Linked DNA regions of Homo sapiens: all the other regions are linked to region 3. Evidence: promoter capture Hi-C in 16 types of primary human blood cells and fetal thymus (Javierre and others, 2016). All regions are on one chromosome and are shown on one strand. Each heading gives the region's core, a stretch centred on a gene start or on the middle of the fragment in contact. The rest is flanking DNA. Distances are from core to core; before and after follow the strand shown. Region 1 has its middle 34 kb from the start of FRRS1. Region 2 holds the start of DBT (dihydrolipoamide branched chain transacylase E2). Region 3 holds the start of SLC71A1 (solute carrier family 71 member 1).

Region 1 (3,365 bases), core at 482-2,981, 240 kb after region 3:
GCCTAGGCTGGAGTGCAGTGGCATGATCTTGGCTCACTGCAACCTCTGCCTCCCAGGTTCAAGTGATTCTCCTGCCTCAGCCTCCTGAGTAGCTGGGACCAGAGATGAATGCCACAGCTAACTTTTGTATTTTTAGTAGAGATGGGGTTTCACCATGTTGACCAGGCTGGTCTTGAACTCCTGACCTCAAGTGATCCGCCCACCTCGACCTCTCAAAGTGCTGGGATTACAGGTGTGAGCCACTTCACCTGGCCCAATTTCTTATAAGCTTCTTTATATCTATCTATTTATATCTCTTAGCAGTTCTGTTTCTATGGATAACCCAGACTAATACAGATTTTGATACTGAGAAGTGAGGTGCTGCTGTAACAAATGCTTAAACATGTGGAAGTTGCTTTGGAAATGGGTAATGGGTAGAGGCTGGAAGAGTTTTAAGGTGCATACTATAAATATAGATATTAAGGGTGATTCTTGTGAAGTCTCAGATGGTAACAAAGATCATGTAGGAACCTGAAGGAGAGGCAATCCTTGTTATAAAGAGGGAAATAACCTGACTGAATTGTGTTTGTGTTCTAGTGTTTTTTTGGAAAGTAGAACTGGTAAGCAATGAAACTGGAAATTTCCCTGAGAATATTTCTAAGCAAAGTGTTGAAGGAGTATCTTAGTTCCTCCTGACTGTTTATAGTAATATGTGAGAGGACAGAGATGAACTGAAGAAAGGATTGTTAAGCAACAAGGAACTAGATCTTAAATATTTGGAAAATTCAGCCTATTGATATTGCAAAAAATGCAAAAACATATTCTGAAAGGAACACCAAGGGTGTGGCTGGACTTTCACTCAATAAAGAGTTTATGATATTATAGGAGCAGAAGCACTGTCAGCTTGAACTGAGGGATGGAGGTTGGACAAAATGAAGAAAGGATATTTGACTTCTTAGATTTTGAAAGACAAGACGATAGAGCTATCTGGGTATAAACGTGCACTGTTCAAAGACAGAGAAAAATTGCCCTGAAGGCAATTCAGAGATTATCACGGTCACCATTCAGTTTTAAAAGGCCAGGTGGCCTCTGACCAAAGCTTGGGAGCCAGGACCTCTCTGCAGAGCTGTGGGGCCAAGACCACCATGTACAGCCTTAGGGGGATGACCCCCTCACCCCAACACCACCAGGCCTAGAAGGCAGAGTGTTGAAGAGGATTATTCTCCGGGCTTAAGATCTCATGGAATACCTTGTTGGGTTTTGAACTGGCTTGAAACCAACTACCTTTCCTTCTTTCCTGCTTCTTCTTTTGGAATGGGAATGTTTATTCTATGTCTGTCCCACTATTGTATTTTGGAATCAGATAACATATTTGGTTTCAAAGGTTCACAGCTGGAGAAAAATTTTGCCTCATAATGAATTACATCTCAAGTCTCGGCAATATCCAGTTTAGATGATTTTTAGAGAGACTTTAATAACAAACCTGCACATGTACCTCTGAACTTAAAACAAAAGTTAAAGAAAACCTTATTAAGTTAAGAAAAAATATTAGACTTTAAATGTTAGACTTTAGAGTTGAAACTGGAATGCGTTAAGACTTTAGGGGCACTGGTCACTTCCAAGATGGCCAAATAGGAACAGCTCTGGTCTATAGCTCCCAGCAAGATTGACAAAGCAGATGGGTGATTTCTGCATTTCCAACTGTGGTACCTGATTCATCTCATTGGGACTGGTTGGACAGTGGGTGCAGCCCATGGAAGGCAAGCTGAAGCAGGGTGGGGCATTGCCTCACCGGGGAAATGCAAGGGGTTGGGGGATTTCCCATTCCTAGCCAAGGGAAGCCGTGAGTGACTGTACCTGGAGGAGTGGTACACTTCTGCCCAAATACTGCACTTTTCCCATGGTCTTCACAACCTGCAGACCAGGAGATCCCCTCCTGTGCCTGGCTCAGCAGGTCCTATGCTCACAGAGCCTTGCTTGCTGCTAGCGCAGCAGTCTGAGATCAACCTGGGATGCCGGAGCTTGGTGGGGGGAGGGGTGTCCACCATTGCTGAGGCTTGAGTAGGTGGTTCTATGTTCACAGTGTAAACAAAGTGGCAGGGAAGCTCGAACTGGGTGGAGCCCACTGGAGCTCAGCAAGGCCTACTGCCTCTCTAGATTCCACCTATGAGGGCAGGGCATATCTGAACAAAAGGCAGCAGACAGCTTCTCCATACTTAAACATCCCTGCCTGACCATTCTGAAGAGAGCAGTTGTTCTCCCAGCACGGCATTCGAGCTGCAATAACAGACAGACTGCCTCCTCAAGTGGGTCCCTGACCCCTGTGTAGCCTGACTGGGAGACACCTCCCAGTAGGGGCTGACAGACACCTCATACAGGTGGGTGCCCCTCTGGGATGAAGCTTCCAGAGGAAGGATCAGGCAGCAATATTTGCTATTCTGCAGCCTCTGCTGGTGATACCCAGGCAAACAAGGTCTGGAGTGGACCTCCAGCAAACTCCAACAGACCTGCAACTGAGAGGCTTCTCTGTTAGAAGAAAAACCAACAAACAGAAAAGAATAGCATCAACATCAACAAAAAGGACATCTACACCAAAACCTCATCCATAGGTCACCAACATCAAAGACCAAAGGTAGATAAAACCACAAAGAGGGGAGAAACCAGAGCAGAAAGGCTGAAAATTCCAAAAACTAGAACACCTCTTCTCCTCCAAAGGAACACAACTTCTCACCAACAAGAGAACAAAACTGGTTGGAGAATGGGTTTGACGAGTTGGCAGAAGTAGGCTTCAGAAGGTCGGTTATAACAAACTTCTCTGAGCTAAAGGATCATGTTCTAACTCATTGCAAGGAAGCTAAAAACCTTGAAAAAAGGTTAGACGAATGGCTAACTGGAATAACTAGTGTAGAGAAGACCTTAAATGACCTGATAGAACTGAAAATCACAGTATGAGAACTTCGTGAAGCATACACAAGCTTCAATAGCCGAGTCGAACAAGTGGAAGAAAGGATATCAGTGATTGAAGATCAAATTAATGAAATAAAGCAAGAAGACAAGATTAGAGAAAAAAAGAGTGAAAAGAAATGAACAAAGCCTCCAAGAAATATGGGACTATGTGAAAAGACCAAATCTGTGTTTGCTTGGTGTTCCTGAAAGTGACGGGGGGAATGGAACCAAGTTAGAAAACACTTTTCAGGATATTATCTGGGAGAACTTCCCCAACCTAGCAAGGCAGGCCAACATTCAAATTCAGGAAATACAGAGAACACCACAAAGATTCTCCTTGAGAAGAGCAACCCCAAGACACATAATTGTCAGATTCACCAAGGTTGAAATGAAGGAAAAAATGTTAAGGGCAGCCAGAGAGAAAGGTTGGGTTACCCACA
Region 2 (3,352 bases), core at 773-3,272, 210 kb before region 3:
GTAATATGTGATCTTTTGTGCTTGTATTCTTTTACTTAGCATAATATTTTTTTGACATTCATCCATGTCATAGCAATTATCGCTAATTCAGTCATTTTTAAGGATGAATAATATTTCAGAATATGGATGTACCACATTTTGTTTATTCACCTGTTAATGGACATCTGGGCTGTTTCTAGATTTTGGCTGTTATGCTGTTATGATTATTCCTATTCAAGTCTTTGTGTGAACACTGTTGTCATTTCTCTTATGTAGCTATCCAGGAGTGGAATTGGTGGGTCATAACTGGCCATTTTTAAATCTAAAAAAAGAGAAGAAATGGGGTCTTTGTTTCTTTCAAACTCGAATAAAAGAATTAACTAGGGAATAGATGGTGTATTTCTTTCCAGATGCTGGAATGAAAGATAAGGACACATATTATACTGAATATAGAAGCAAGAATCCATTGACATAAGAAGACGGTAAAGGAAAATAAACTAGTTATCTTCTGAGGAGCAGGTACAGTTAAAAACGAAATTAGGACAAAGAAAGTTGTATAGCAGCAGCTTGGAAGGGAGATGATTCACTTCAAAGGTACAACTGCCACTGCTTTTTATACAAACACATGCTTGTGGGATTATCAAATATATTAATAATGTCTATAAACATTTTTAAGGAAATGTAAAAACTTGAAATTCTTTTGACTACTCTAGATTTTCTGAGAAAGATAGCTATTTAGGCCGGACCCAGTGGCTCATGCCTGTAATCCTAGGACTTTGGGAGGCTGAAATGGGAAGATCGCAGTTTGAGACCAGGACTTTGAGACCAGCCTGGGCAACATAGAGAGATCCCATCTTGAACTTCTGAGCTCAAGCCATTTGCCTGCCTCAGCCTCCCAAAGTGCTGGAATTATGGGCAGGAGCCACCACGCCTGGCCCAAGAGACCCTATCTCTACCAAACAAACAAACAAACAAAAAAGATAATAAGATTTATTGTTTGCATTGATTTTTTGTGTGTAGATGTGTAATACATAAAATGGCAAATGAGGGGGAAAAGTGTTTGGGTCATATTAAACAATGAAGTTGTGAAATACCTGAGATTTTGTTTCATAACCACTAATCTTCAATGTTGAGCATTTAAAATGTATTTGTTCCAGTTTTTTTTCTCTGTAATTCCTTAGACATCTGTGCAGATTTTCATTCCCACGTAAGAAGCAATAACAGACTAATGTCATCCTGGACATTTCCAGGAATTGGTTTCCTAGTTGCTCTGAGGAAGATTGCCTTTTAAAAGAAAGCTCTGATCTGTTCTTTACCAGTTCCACTTGACCTGAATTTGACATTTCTTTAAGAGACAACTAAATCAAGATCATGTGTCTGTGACATGTATTGCATATGCTAGTTAGCTGCATCTGATAGCAGTCTGTAAAAAGAAAGATGATAACATGTTTATTTTAGACATTAGGTAATGTTCATCTTTCATGAAAAAAATTGATTAGCCAATTTTGGTAATCAAAAACATAAATGGGAGTAAAAAAGGCAGTCATTGGGAAGTACTGCTGTATGGACTTGTGAAACAACTAGTTGTCCAGAGCCTTGCTACAACGTATAGAAATATTCTATTTTCTGTATTTGGGGCGGCTACACTACAAGATGAAGACGGGGAAATGTTTTCCAACTCATCGCTCAGGTCCTACTGCAACATAACTTTCTTGAGGTAAGTACCTTTCTTTGTGTTTCCTTAACACTCTCTATTTTCCCCATCACATACACTAAAAAGATTATCTTTGGTGCATCTGTATTTACACAGCAGTGTTAAATTTGGGCTGCCCTCTGCCCCGCCTCCGTCCCCCAGGCTCTTTTCACTCCCCGCTGGGTCCCAGATCCTAGGGTTTAGCTCAGGCTCCGCCCTACTCCTTGGTTGGCTGTTGGGTGGGAGGCTCGTTTCTTCCCTCCCTATTGGTCGCCCAGGGGGAGGCGCGTTTCCCATCTCCTGATAGGCCGCGCCGAGGAGAGTCTCTCCAGTTTGCGGCACTGTTGTCATTTCCGGGGTAAGATGGCTGCAGTCCGTATGCTGAGAACCTGGAGCAGGAATGCGGGGAAGCTGGTAAGCACGTTTGGGCAGATCTGAGGCCGGGAAGGAGTGATTTGTCCGGAGTCATCCAGGAGTGGTGTTTTACTTTCTCCTCCGGTGCCAGGCGTCCAGGGCACGCGTGATGGAGAGGTGAAGGGATGCATGCAAAATAAAGGGCAGAGAACGGAGCGAGTCGACCAGTCTGGAGTGGAAACCCACTCCCTCCCCTTACCTGGAAGCGCTTCTGCAGCGACTCAGCCGTCCTGCTCCATCTGTACCCCGAGGCCCAGCTAGCGTTTTATTGAGCGCCTTCCAGGTGCCCAGGCATTGTGATAGGCGCTGTGGATCCAGAGATATATTCGTTTAGCATTTATTGCGTACCCACAGTATGCCAAACACTGGTAACACGACCCCTACCCTCAAGGAATCTACAGTGTGTAGAGGAAGAGGCCGTTCAAGTTATAGAATATCAGCAGGGGTCCCTGCTTCCGAAGAACTGAGCAGCTCGGCGTCACTCTTTTGCCTTGTACTTCTATGTCCGCACCACATATCATTCCTACCCTTTTGTCACCAAGGCTGTGACCCATCACCATCTCCCCTGCACTTCCTTCTCTTTCTCCCAGTCTTAGCACCAAGCACTGACACATACCGGTAATGATACTTGTTACCCCTATTTGCTTAGTGTTTCTTCTTCCTGCCTCTTCTCCCTTTCCCTAGATGCTCCTGCCTTGGTGACCCCGATCTTACAAAAACTTTCAAGAGCCTGCTATGTACCAGTGCTGTGTTAGGCACTGGAGATACAAATATGAAATAGACATCATATCTTCCTTCTCAAGAGATTACAACCTTGTGGTGGAGGACAAAGGAGAGGGAGACAGATAGAAATTACAACCCAGCATGAGAGGTACTGTGATGGGACAAGTGCCTAGAACTACAGGAACACACAGGAGTGGACACCTATGGTGGACTTGGGGGTCAGAGGAGTTCCCAGAGGATACTGTATGACTTGAGATGTAAGAAGGATAAGTAAGAGATAACCAGGAGAAGAGAGCTCTTCTCAGCAACACTTAACACATATTGGTCTCTCTTCTTTCTAGAGCTTTCCATTCTTGTTTTCTGTGACACCAGTTTCCCAATATTATTCTTTCTTCATCTTTGGCCACTTCATCCCAATATCCTGTTTCCCTTCCCGCCTTTTAAATATTGCTTTTTCTAAAGGGCTCTGACTTTGGCCCTCTGCACTTTTCCCACTTTCTGGGTTATCCCATCCACTCTTTGGCTTTAGTTACCATCTATGCT
Region 3 (2,940 bases), core at 191-2,690:
CAATAAATGTCAAAGCTATAACATATAATAAACGTTAAACTAAAAATATATTCCAAAGTCATTACATATGTCTCAAGTTTTCTAAACTTTGGCATATTGACTGGGCCGTGTTCTGAAATGTCATAAAATTTTGTCACGTTTTTCAACTGAATTCAGCAAATCCTCAATGGTGGCCTACTTACACATTTACTACTGTGCTAGCAGTTGATCGCGGCTCCAATAAGATATAAACAGAAATGGAATTAATGGTACAATTTCTGCACACTTCAGGTAAGTGAAACATATATATCACCTTTCCATTCTATTTCAGAACGCGGTATCAGCGGATGCAACAAAGACCACACAGTGTAGCAACGGAGAAATGTTAGCATAAAACAGTTTTGTTTTGTTTTGTTTTTCAATTAAAAATCCTACGTCCCCAGCTGGTTAACTACACACTGCATAAAGTTTACTGTGATGACAACTGTTTCTAAAAAGCAAACCTTTCTTCCCTTCAAAGTGTCCTCCTCCGATCCTTAGGCCATGACTGATTCTAATACTTTTGATCTTAAGACACACAGTGATGACTTTTCTTTGAAAACTAGCAGGTTCGAATGTAGGCCCCAGGTGTCTGCCGTCATGCTTCCGACTCCGGGAAGTGAGGGAAGCCCATCTCCGGTCAGGGTTTACTGTAAGCAGCCCAGAGCCGGAGCACCGACGCAGAGAGACGTGGAAACAGAAAGCGAACGTACTACGGGGCCGCAGCGGGATCCCCGCGCCAGACGCCACCCCGTTAGCAACATATGGGAGAGCAGGGATGGTTCCCAGCCCCTTGACAAGCGCGGCGACGGCTCCGCGGGGCCTGGCGGCGAAGGCGAGGCGAGGCTGCGGCGACGAGGGGCGCGGCGGGCGGGCCGCCGGGGGAGCCCCGCACATTCCTCCCCGCGGCGGAGGCGCACGTGGGGTTCGAGGCCGCAGGGCCTGCAGAGGCGGCCAGAGCAGAGGGCGGCAGGTGCGGGAAAGAAAGAGGACGGGCCCCGGAGGCCGCAAGCCCGAGCAGCGGAGGACGATTCCCGGAGCGGCGGCATGCGGGTCCGCGACCCCGAGGCACCGGCAGCTCGGACAGGGTGGGGGAAGGGAGGGAGGCACCGGGACGCCTAGAGACGGCAGTGTGGGGGTCTGAAGGAGAGACCGGATGGGGGCCCCGAGGGACGCTCGCCGGCGCGGAACTCAGCTCACCGTGCCTCCGTCCTTAATGATGATCTTCTTGGCCAGCATGATACTGCGGTTCGCGGCCCGTTTCTTCTTCTTCCCCTGGGTCATTTTACCATCCTCGATTCCTGGCGCTGCTGCAGCCACTCCCGGGGCGGCAGGCCCCAGCAGCTAGTGCCGTCCCACCACTACTGCCGGGCCGAGCCGCTCTGGGCGCCCGCCGCCATCTTGAGGGCCCGGCCTGCCTCCGGCGGCGCGTCACAATCGTGCGATCAGCCGACGAGCGGGCCCCGCCCCTCCCGCGTGATACCGCCCCGCCCGCTCGCCGCCAGCCCACTCTACAGTAGCCGCGCGGCCAGGGTAACCGCGGGCTCGCGTGGGTGCTGCTGGCTACCTGTACAACTTCGTGCTCCGGCGTCACCAGCTAGCTAAATCCTCGCAACGGTTCTGGGCGATAGGGGCCGTTTTTGTCCCCCTTCTTCAGCAGATGAGGGAATTTGTTTCAAAAAGTTGTTACCTGCTCACGGAAACAGACGTCCTAAGCTATTAACACAATCTCCAGCTGTGTTCTAACCAAGACAGGAACCGAAGGGAACAGTAAAAAATCATTTTCCGTAAGTAATGGGTAACTTAAGAGATAATGTAGTGTTTCAGAAACAGTCTTGTCCTTTTGGTGTTCAGGGACCCCCGCTAGAACTCAGCTGGCTCACGCTTGTTTACCTCCCTAGACCCAGGACCTTTTTTATTCCCTGCCAAAAAAAATACCTTACCTGACCGATGTCACCCTTTGTGGCCCTCTACGTTTTTACTGTATTGTTTAAAAATAAATTTGATGGGAACATTGCTAGAAAGGGCAATTTACACAAGTGGAAGTGGACTTTAAAGTATCACAATGTTAAAATTAGATATTGATAACTACCGTGTTGTATAATAGAATATCCTTTTCCTTAAGAGAAAAACACGAGGGATAGGGATACACCGCATGCTCCCTACTCTCAGATGGTTAGGGAGTAACATGTATGTGTATGTATATGTAGGTGGGGAAAAGAGAGGGACAAAGCAAAATGGCGAATGTTTAAAAGTACTGAAACTAGGTATGGTAGTTCTAAGATATGTTCACAGATTCAATGATATTCCTCCCTGGAAGAGGTGGACTCTAATTCCCCTCCCCTTGAGTGTAGACTAGGCTTAGTGACTCTTGATAGATCAAAACAGAAGTGACAGTATTGACTTCAGAGGCTAGGTCATAAAAGGCACTGCATCTTCCTTTGCGGGTCTCTTTTTCATTCATTTTGGGGCTTGGAGCCTGGGGAAGCCTGCTTCCGTGTTTTCAGGACACTCAAGCAGCCTATGGAGAGATCCAGTTGTCCAGGAACTGTTTGTAGCCTCCTACCAAATGCCACGGAGTGAGTCACTTTGGAAGTAGATCCTCCAACCTTGGTCAAGCCTTTGGCTGACTACAACTTCATGAGAGACCCAGAGGTAGGACCACCTAGCTTAGCCACTCCTGGAATCCTGACTCAGAAACAGTGTAAGATGAAAAGTACTTGGTGTAAGCCACTAAGCTTTGGGGTTATTTGTTACACAGCTATAAATAACTAATATATAGGGTAAAAGGAAAAACAGTAAATGAATGTATGAGTTCTTTGTACTGTTTTTGCAACTTTTCTGTAAGTTTGAAATTATTTCCAAATAAAATGTTAAAAAGTAAATTTGATTGAATTTCCTTTTCCTTGTATTTTCATACTG

Evidence for each region. Contacts are between HindIII fragments. The CHiCAGO score rates a contact against its expected background, and 5 or more counts as called.
Region 1: a contact is called between a fragment that was not itself captured here and the fragment with the promoter of SLC71A1 in region 3, in 1 of 17 cell types (erythroblasts). The highest score is 8.0, in erythroblasts.
Region 2: the fragment with the promoter of DBT here is called in contact with the fragment with the promoter of SLC71A1 in region 3 in 4 of 17 cell types (activated CD4 T cells, naive CD8 T cells, non-activated CD4 T cells and 1 more); the score reaches 7.7 in activated CD4 T cells.

What each region holds. Positions count from the first base shown.
Region 1 is chr1:99,799,276-99,802,640 of GRCh38, reverse strand. No RefSeq gene overlaps it. Among named protein-coding and RNA genes, the nearest start is that of FRRS1, 34 kb to the right of the region's middle. The HindIII fragment of the contact is 1,302 bases long and covers 1,081-2,382 here.
Region 2 is chr1:100,248,504-100,251,855 of GRCh38, reverse strand. It overlaps DBT (dihydrolipoamide branched chain transacylase E2), which reads left to right and starts at 2,022. Exons shown (of 11, transcript NM_001918.5): 1 at 2,022-2,086. The coding sequence starts at 2,036. RefSeq lists a silencer at 1,803-1,902 and enhancers at 2,013-2,132, 1,734-2,293, 2,294-2,853. The HindIII fragment of the contact is 8,889 bases long and covers 1-3,352 here.
Region 3 is chr1:100,036,595-100,039,534 of GRCh38, reverse strand. SLC71A1 (solute carrier family 71 member 1) reads right to left here and starts at 1,440. Exons shown (of 12, transcript NM_033055.3): 1 at 1,219-1,440. The coding sequence starts at 1,302. It overlaps LOC124904230 (a long non-coding RNA gene), which reads left to right and starts at 1,527. Exons shown (of 7, transcript XR_007066251.1): 1 at 1,527-1,805. RefSeq lists silencers at 814-1,003, 1,464-1,643 and enhancers at 1,124-1,403, 1,366-1,968. The HindIII fragment of the contact is 6,938 bases long and covers 1-2,758 here.